Linked DNA regions of Homo sapiens: region 1 is linked to region 2. Evidence: promoter capture Hi-C in human tissues and cell types (Jung and others, 2019). All regions are on one chromosome and are shown on one strand. Each heading gives the region's core, a stretch centred on a gene start or on the middle of the fragment in contact. The rest is flanking DNA. Distances are from core to core; before and after follow the strand shown. Region 1 has its middle 30 kb from the start of LINC03122. Region 2 holds the start of SMIM15 (small integral membrane protein 15).

Evidence for each region. Contacts are between HindIII fragments. The study calls those that stand out against the background at their distance.
Region 1: a fragment that was not itself captured here is called in contact with the fragment with the promoter of SMIM15 in region 2 in 1 of the 25 tissues and cell types used here (dorsolateral prefrontal cortex).

Annotation. Positions count from the first base shown.
Region 1 is chr5:61,605,630-61,610,391 of GRCh38, forward strand. No RefSeq gene overlaps it. Among named protein-coding and RNA genes, the nearest start is that of LINC03122, 30 kb to the right of the region's middle. The HindIII fragment of the contact is 5,717 bases long and covers 1-4,762 here.
Region 2 is chr5:61,158,976-61,163,747 of GRCh38, forward strand. SMIM15 (small integral membrane protein 15) reads right to left here and starts at 3,493. Exons shown (of 3, transcript NM_001048249.4): 1 at 3,242-3,493; 2 at 2,113-2,252; 3 at 1-1,224. The coding sequence starts at 1,196. The coding sequence ends at 972. SMIM15-AS1 (SMIM15 antisense RNA 1) reads left to right here and starts at 3,341. Exons shown (of 4, transcript NR_109908.1): 1 at 3,341-3,551. RefSeq lists enhancers at 2,660-3,556, 3,042-3,121, 3,192-3,451, 3,982-4,081, 4,122-4,181 and a silencer at 3,632-3,741. The HindIII fragment of the contact is 13,088 bases long and covers 1-4,772 here.

The DNA.
Region 1 (4,762 bases), core at 1,066-3,565, 450 kb after region 2:
TGGACTCAGCCCACATACCCCCAGAAGGTGCTGAGACCCCAGGGCCCACCAGGGAGCACTGAATCCTGTGCTGGACAGAGTGTTTTGTTATTAGAGAGCCGTGGATTCAACAAGGACCACCATTTACATACTTACTGTGCGACCTTGATTGAGTTTCTGAACTTCTCTGAGCCTATCAGTCAAATTTGACAAGTTACTACATGGTAATATCAAGTAGGTACACGGTACAGAGGCAGTGTAAGAATTAAGAGGATGGATCGAGGTACTGGCACAAAGTAGGCATTCAAATGTTAGCTCCTTTCCTCCACTAATCACTTGTCTACACAACATTCCTTATGTTATGTTATGTCATGTTATGTTACTCTGTGGGGAGGTCTAGTGAATGATGGTTAAGAGTTGGTGCTCGCAGTGAATAAGGCTGGAATTCCGGCTCCCCGCTTTTCCAGCAGTGTGAACGGGGGGTGAGTTGCTTAGTTTCTGTAACCCTCAGTATCTTCCTTTGTAAGAGTAGAGGTCACCTTAGCACTTATCCTTTTTTTTTTTTTTTTTTTTTTTTTTTTGAGACAGAGTCTCGTTCTTTAGCCCAGGCCGGAGTGCAGTGGCATGATTTCTGCTCACTGCAAGCTCTGCCTCCTGGGTTCACGCCATTCTCCTGCCTCAGCCTCCCGAGTAGCTGGGACTACAGGCGCCCGCCTACTTTTTTGTAATTTTAGTAGAGACGGGGTTTCACCGTGTTAGCCAGGATGGTCTCGAGCTCCTGACCTCTTGATCCTCCCGCCTCGGCCTCCCAAAGGGCTGGGATTACAGAGCACTTATCTTCAACAATTGTTGAGAGGATAAGATAATGTGTACAGAACTGTGCTTAGAACAGTGACTGGCACATAGTTATATATGAAAGCTACTAAGATAATGATTGTATGTAAGCATGGAATGCTTCAGTTGTCATGCATGCAGAGGCTGTTCCAGGTCCTTTGTTAGGTGCCAAGGACACAAAGAACCAAGGAGCCACAGTTTGGGGCTGTGAGGATCATCCAGTCTAGTTGTGGAGACAGAAAGTTAGGCAAATGTTTCTTTCATCTTGCAACAGGTGAATGATGACAGCTGCAGGCCAGGCCAGAGCACACAGGAGAGTGTGCAGCGGTGGGAGGCAGGGAGGCAATGGAGGGACCGGGTGGGAATGACGGTCCAAGCAAGGCCGGTGCAGAGGCGCAGCCTGGGAGGCTGGAGTGAGCAAAGCAAGTCGCAGGCATTGGTGGCTGGGAACACAGTTGGAGACCCTGGAGCCCATCCAGAGCTGAGGCAGAAGAGGCAAGGGTGAAGGTGAACTGGATTATCAACTTCAACCAGCAACCACTTTTGTCTATATCCTGAGCCCCTACAGCAGTGCCTGGCACTTGGAAAACAATAAATAATTGGTTGACTAAAGGAAAGTGAAAGAAGAGGTTACAATGGACGCAAGAAGAGATAATGACCCCAGTAACACCTCTGAGGGAGCCAGAGAGGGGAGGCCCTGAGCGATGGGTGGAGGTGGTGCCCAGCCTCCCCTCTGACAGGAGGCGGGAGATGAGGGTATGTGGGAAACACACTTGTGGGGCAGTGGTGAGGGTGGGGGAGGAGGAGCTGATGAGGGCCTGCCTCAGGCCTTGGCGAGCTGGGAGGTGGAGCCACCGCCCTGCTGGGGATGAAGGATAGCGATGGAGGAGAGCGCCCTGGGGGAACGCCTCCATTTTGAGTTGGCGGTGACGAGGAATGGGAAGAGAGCTCCCAGGGACTGGAGGCATGACTGAAGGGCCAGAACAGGTGGACGGTGGAGTTGGGAAGGGCACCATGGGCGCCACGGTGGCACTTTTCTCTCGCATACCTCACCTGCCTGGTGTGGGCGCAGGGAAGGGGACTGGGGGTCCATCAGAGCTTACTGTGGCACCGGGCCAGCGTGAAGGAGCAAAGCAACAGGCCACGGGGCCTCTACTGGGGAGAGAAAAGCAGAGAGAAAGGACCCAGCCACTTCCGAGAGGAAGGAGGTCAGGAGGCTAGGAGGCTGAGGCCAGAAGAGCAATAGTGGGGGTTCTATTTCCTCTCACAGATGGAGGTTTCTTGCCTTTGCTGGAATTCTTCCCCTACCACCATCTCTGTATGTACAATTTTCTCATCCTTCAAGGCTTCACTCAAATGTCATTTGAACTTCTCAGAGGTAAAATTGCTCCCTCTGTTGAACTCCTATCTTCCTTGGGGCTGTAATTATTTGCCCATGTCATTCTCATCTTTCTCATGTACGCTCCTGAGGACCACCTCAGGTTTCAACTCCACTGCCCCCACGGACGCTGCTGAACTGCTTCTTGTGCAGGGCAGGTAAACATTTGTGACATGAAACCATCACTTCTAACAGAATCAATTCTATGTCTGATTGATGTTCCCTTAGAATTAAAAAAATAATTCTATCTGTGGATTCTCGTTCTGTAGAAAGGCAATGTTGCATGAGAGAAAGCATATACATTTTGAATCAGGGAAACGTGGCTTTCCTTATTGGGATAATGCATTGATGTCCTAGTGACCAGAAATGGTATGTAAATTAGCAAGGCATGCACTTGCGCATATCATAACAGATCACAAAAAGACACCCCTTGCTTTGGGATGCTACAGACGCCACAAAGACAAAGAATTTGCATGTGGATTTCAGTCCTCACGTGCCTTGCAGCCAGACACCTTTTTGCAGAGCACATCTGTAAATTGTGGCCTCCGTAAAATACCTGGCATACAGTAGGTATTAAATAAAAGTAGCAATTATATTTATAGTTATTATTAGTACATCATTATTATTATTATATACAGCACCCACCTGGCATTGCATGCAGACAGATCCTTGGATTAACATTCCTCTGCAGTTGAAGTTTTTCTATTTTAAAGATTTAAATCATAGGCACATAGTAGCACAGTCTGTCTTGAAGAAGAAAAATGAAAGGCTGTAGTAAATGATGCTATTAGAATTATACTTTCCTCATTACAGAAGTAATATGACCCTGCTTTGGGGCTCCAAGCTCTCACTGATGCTGAAATTTAAAATACAGGGTCTAGACCAGAACCCCAGAGTAAAAGGAGTGATTGTAAGAAGTCATATAAATGGATTTGATCTCTTGTTAGTGGTCCGTATTCTCTTGGTAGGGCTAGAGAAGTCAACTTATTATCAATAAAAAAGAATAAACACTTTATAGGAAGCTATTTTCTCTGTCACAAAATGTTTTATATGCCTGTCAATAATTGTAACTGTTAAATATGACATATTGATGAATATAGTGGGACAAAAGGATGCTTTTTTCTGATTAGGGTGGAAAGATTTTAGTCTTTATTTTATGGATGGAAGTAATCCAACTCACAAACTTCAGCTATCTATAATCTTCTATGGGAAGGCAATAAAAGAAAAAGAAGAAAAAGAAAATTCTGAAAGGAGCTCTTTCAGCTAAGAGCCCAAGCCTGTGGAACTTGCCCTTCTCACAACTGGCTCCTACGGCTGCCTGGTGGACCTCAGAACCATTGCAGCCCTTGGTTCTTTGTCAGACCTGCGGGTAGGGTACACATAGTGACTGTACGGTTGAGGGGCCCATCCTCCTGGGCACCGGCATTTGTCTCTTACTCACTCATGGAGATAAACTTGGCTGTCTACTTGACCAGAAGTAGCAGTTGGAATGTCTATGGGTGAGAACAGAGAAAGCCAGAGACTCCTGCATTTGATTGTTAGAAAGACAATCAAATGGTTCTCTCTACAGAAACATTGTAAGAACAGTGCAACAAACAACCATTGATCCTTCTGGTGGATCCACTGGCTGTTACTATTTTGCCACATTTATTTTCTCTCTCTGTAAATGTCCCTATACACATACATATATACATTTTTATTATTTTTGCTAAGCCATTTGAGAATAAGTTGCAGACATCACGACCTTTACTCCCAAATACTCAGCATGTATCTCCTAAGAACAAGGGTGTTCTCTTAGAAAATCACAATGCAATCATTGAGTTCTTGACATTGTATATGGATGCAATACTATGATCTATCTTGCAGTCCTCTTCAGTCTCCTTTAATCTAGAACAGTTCCCCAGTCTGGCTTTGTTTTTGGCAACATTGACATTTCTGAAGGGTAGAGATGTTGTTTTGTAGAAGCCTTTTCAGGTTGGGTTTGCCTGGTATTTCCTCACGATTTGATTCAGGTTGTGCATGTTTTGGCAGGAATATCACAGAAGTGCTATTTTATCCTCTTCACTACATCATATTAGGAAGCACGTGATGTCAGTTTGTCCCATTAGTGGTGATATTAAGTTTGATCTTATGGTTTAAGTGGTATTTACCAGATTGCTTCACTGCAATGCACCCGGTCCCCCTTTGGAATTAATGAATAATTTGCAGGGAGACAGCAAATGGGTTTTAAACTAAAAACACTTTCACAGTTGAATAGTGTTGATCACACTTTAGAAACTCAAGCCCAATGCTGCTGTTGGCAAGAGGAAGTTATAAAAATAAAAGTCTTCTCCCTCTTCAAAACTAGAAAAAGAAAAGTACTTTCAGGAGAAGGAAAAAGCTTTTCCCTTTTTAAATTTGGAAGTCAGAAAACACAGAGAGGGCTATGGGTAAAAACAGGCGAAAAAATGAGAACTGAATTAAAATACTTCTGACTTCTGGCGCTCACCCAGAGTAAATGAACAGTGTGCATGCACTCTGAGAAGATAGAAAATGCCATATATATATATTTATATTTGATGTGATGGGTGC
Region 2 (4,772 bases), core at 2,243-4,742:
GTTCTTTAAAAGAAATGTGAAATTTAACGTTTTACTTTGAACCTGTTTGATCAGAAAGTATTAAATATCACTACCACATGAGTTAAAACAAAGAATGAAATAAAAAACAAATGGTGTCTTTGTAATCGGCGAATTACTTGATAAGACATTTTAACTATTTTACAGTTCTGCTTAGCACAAGAATAAACTGGGTTCCAAGGTACTACAGTGTTTGGCATTTTTACTGCAAGCTTTAAACCATAGTGTTACTCCTCTCAAGCCATCTCTAAGAAAATGGCAGTGTTTGTGAGTACAAAAATTGTTCTGTCCAGTAGGTGGTATTCTACATAGTCGAGATAAGAGAATTCTTTATAAAATTATGTTTTAAAAAATGGAAAATGACTTATAATTACCAGCTGTCTCAAAGGCTGTAATAAGAAAAATGCAGCAAATAGAAGTACTCATTAATATTATTTTGTTTTGAGAAAGCCAGAAATGATTCTAAGAAATAAACAATAATAATAAAAGATGTAATTAATATACTGTATCCCTTTTAAGCCAAAGCACACTTTTTACCTCAAGACTGTTCTGACTTTTACATTCTTAATTTCCTTTGTCCAAAATAGGACCCCATTTTAAATAGAGTTCATTTGAATTGAGTTCATAATCTAAAGTCACTTTTCCCCACAAGATGTTTTCATTTCAGTATATAAACTGCTAAGCGGCAAATGACTAAGTCAGTTATAAAGAATTTGTACCACAGTAAATGCTAATTTACAATAACTGTCAATAGAAACCTATAAACTTCTACACCCACGCCTAAAAGTTACTATAGTATTGAGGTCAGAACTAACATGATTCTTCCATTTGGTCAAATTTCATTTACTAAATCATACTGTCAAGAAATCCAAAGAAGAAACTTTAGTGGATTCTTCCAAAGCTGTGTAATTTTCCAAATGATTTTCCTCTGGTTGCAAAGCCTGTTCAGTCCTTCAATCCTTTTTTAGTCGTTTAGCTTTTGCAATGTTTTCTTGGCGTTTTTGCTTCTTCTTTTGCTCCTTCTCCCTGGCCTCAATCATCTTGGCCAATTTCCAAGACAGTACAGCACTTGCTAGGAACAGTGGAGTAAGGGCCAAAATAACGGTTGTAAGGAAGCCATAGGGGTCCTTTGCAGCCCATTCCACAACATACTCAGCCCAAGCCTTTATATCAAACATCTTCACAGCAGTCTTATGAAAACTGGGGCTGGGGGAGGCGGGTGGAGAACACAGAGGAAAAAAACAGGAGAAAAGACTATGTGGTTAATCAAATTTTGAAAAAGTTTCCTCACACAACCAGTTAACTCAGGATTCCATTATCACTCAGTTTGCTTTTTTAAAAAGTACAACTTAGTACTATTGTAATAAGGACTAGTATCTCTGGTTAGGAAAAAGTAATTCATCTAGTACAGCCAGAATAGTGACACTTCAAAGAGGTAAAGTTATAGAAGATTTAAAAAAGCCATGTGACTCTGTCATAAGGACTATGCATTCTCACATGCCTCCTATATTCAAGACAAACTTTATTTAGGAGGAGGCTTTTATAAAAATCTTGAGTTTTCTGTGGTCATTCCAGGAAACAGCTGAATACAGTTTGTCATTTTTTGACATATCCTTAGTATTACTAATTAACAAAAATACAAATCAGCAAATTTGGTGTTTGAAAAGGACAAGCAACAGAGCATGTGAAATGCTCGCAGAGAAGGAGAGATGACTATTTCCCCGAATGGGAAGGAGAGGGTAAGGGAGTCATGACATCGCATTAATATGCCAAAGAAGCAAAAAGTACTGTGCTATTTTATGCCCTTTCAGCTTTGAGGACCTCTGTTGGAATAAGCCTAATTTAATAAATGAGAAAGTAGCCTTAACAGATGCCATGTGTTTTGTTCCTTTTTGAGTGTAAGGAAAAGGCAACTGGCAAATGAGGATTATGTGACTTGAGTGACGTTTTCTATTTTGCCCCAGAGGCTTTTCTCCCTTTCATGTTTGTGTCAACCGCTATTCAAAGTGGAGAATTAGAATACCTGGGTAGGGAATGAGTGTATATACATCCACTTACAATTTCAACTGGAATTTTTTTAAAAAAATCATCTACCTTATGCTTGAGTAGTGATCCCTTAACTTTGTCCTGGTGTTATTAGTGACCCAATCACGACTTCAGATGACCCTTGGTAGTCTGTCTTCTTGAGTTCTACTGTACACATCTGAGAGACGGTTTAAATTCTGTACAATTGGCTAGTTGGAAAGAATACAAAAAATAAAACAAAATTTAAGTCACAATTTCAGGATAATTGTAATAAAATTTTAAATGGAAAATTTCTATATTGTATATATGCAACCTATATGACATCTAAAATTGCCTATCCGGTATAGTAACTTAATACGTTTCTTCCTCATTTGAATTTACAATTGCAAATGCCCTGTAAGAAAATCCTAATTACTGGAAATCAAGTATTTTACTAAGTTACTTATTTCAATAATAAAATTTTTTTAGTTCATTGACATACGGGAGACAAGTTGGCTCACTGACTGACTTACACAGCGTATCCGTTCCTAGATTTTCAATTTTTATACTAAAAATGTTGCCACTCATTTATTTACTGGATTAGGTACACCACTACAAAATCAAACAGCTCATCTTACTCTTTATAAAGGTTTTTTTGGGTCCATCATACAATTTGTGTCCTTTACTTAAAAAATTAGAAGACATAACCAAACAAATTATAGTAATTCACCCACAGTCCCATTACCCCAAGAAAACTGTGACTAGTTTTAATTATATCTTCCCCACGATTTTCAACTGAACACACATGAAAGTGCCTAATACGTTAAATATCTTAGCTCCTGGACTTCATACGACCTCACCCATACAGTTAGAATTAGGTACTACTGAGATCGATCTGCCTTCACCTTCTCCAGCCCAGTAGCGAATAAACAATGTAAGTTTCAGAAATAAGCAAAAGAACTTTGCAGTAAAAGAGCCATGGTCCACAGGCCACACATCTCCCTGCAACTCAACTTCGGACCCAAACGCTCGCGCCTCCACACTTTCAGGAATAAATCCTACTCTTCCGCCCAAAACGGATCGACCAGGCTCGATCTCCCAACCAGACCCGCGTGGCCCCTGCGGCTGCAACGGGTAGCACTTGACGGCCGTCCGCACTTCCTCCTTTGTCTTTCCCTTATTCCTTACGTTTCTCCCTTGCTCACTCTTCCCTCCTTACCCTATCGGGGCTGCAGACCCACGGAGGCCACGTTCACTCCTGCCCGTCGGCCTTGGCAAGCGCGGGCCCCTTGTCGCGCAGAGCGGAGGGTCCTGGGAGATCCTGGGTTGGCCCAGCCACACCTTGCGCCGCCGCCGTTTCTGCTGGACACCAGGAGAAAACCACGGCAGCTGCAGCCACCAACTTCCCCTACATAGCCCCACGGGATCGGATCCCACTCCCCACTCACCGCCAGACCGGAAGCAGGAAGGCGGAAGTCGCGGCCTTTGCGTCCCGCCCACAGGCGACCCGAGCCGCCAGCCGGGCGTGAGTAAGTCTAGGGCCCAGTTTCCGGCTGCGCCATTGCTGTGTGGGTCTTGGGACCTCGAGTTGGAGGACGCGGGAGGGTGGGGGCGGGGGCAGGGCAGCGCTGAGATTTCCGGGGAGCGGCAGGTGAGGCCGCGCGGGGCGGGTGACGGCACCCGGGCGGGCTCCTTTCCAGGCTGGAGCCCGAGACTGCCACGTCCTGCGGGGACCAAGTGGTGGGCGAGGAGGCGTGGAGCGGCTTCAGGACTCGAGGAGCGGTTCCGAAGCAGCTAGGGACTTTTGCCTTTGCCCCCCGAGGTCGATCGGAAGACAACCCCCATCCCCTGCTGTAGCGGGACAGTTGGAGGGTCATGGGTGGGTGAAGTGTTTGGCTGAGGGAAACTCAGACCAAAGAGCAGCGGCAAGAAAGCAGTTGGGTCCCCACAAAACGCCCGAAGTCAAGGTGAGGGTCACACAACGACTCTTGACGATTCCGGCGAGTTCATCCTGGTGCACATCCCACTCCATGCCTCTCTCTTCTGGTTGGACAATAGTTACATCCTTACGAAAAGGAGGCAAGCTACTGGGCCTTGGTGGATCCACTCAACCTTGTTACCAAGGGACATGCCGCCATGCTATGTGAAAAGGGGGGTTTTGTTGTTTGTTTTTAATTTAAGTATCTAATTCGTTTCACGAAAGAATGATCAATACCGGCCCAGAGTAAACTTGATAAGTAATTAAACTGTCAGGGCATAGAGTTCCCATAGAGGTGCTTGTTCTTTCAATACACAAATAAAGGGATGCAAAAGTCAACATGCAGAAAGGGTGAGTTAATATTGTCTTCTAATCTACAGGAACTGAAAGATTAGCTAATCTGGTTTGGTTGGTGACCAAATTTTGTGATTGCTTGCACTGTTTGACTACCTCTGACAAATGTTGCAAGACCTCTTCACTGATTCTCCAAAGACTATAGAATGTTCTCTTTCAGGAGCAAGCTGCGACATGTTTAACTAGTTTAGGTAAAACAACAATAACTGTTATTTACCAGGGAACAGGCTTTTGGCAGATAATCTAACGATCTACGATACTGTTCGTTGGGCATATGTTAATGTTTGTAATGTTGTATTACCAGCAGTTGTTTTCTTACTCCTTTTTATTTGAAAACCTGGATGATAGTTTCAAAGCCTATGCTGCTTAGGCCTAGCCTGTACCTTAGTAGCCAGAAAAAGTAGACTCAGTCACTGGA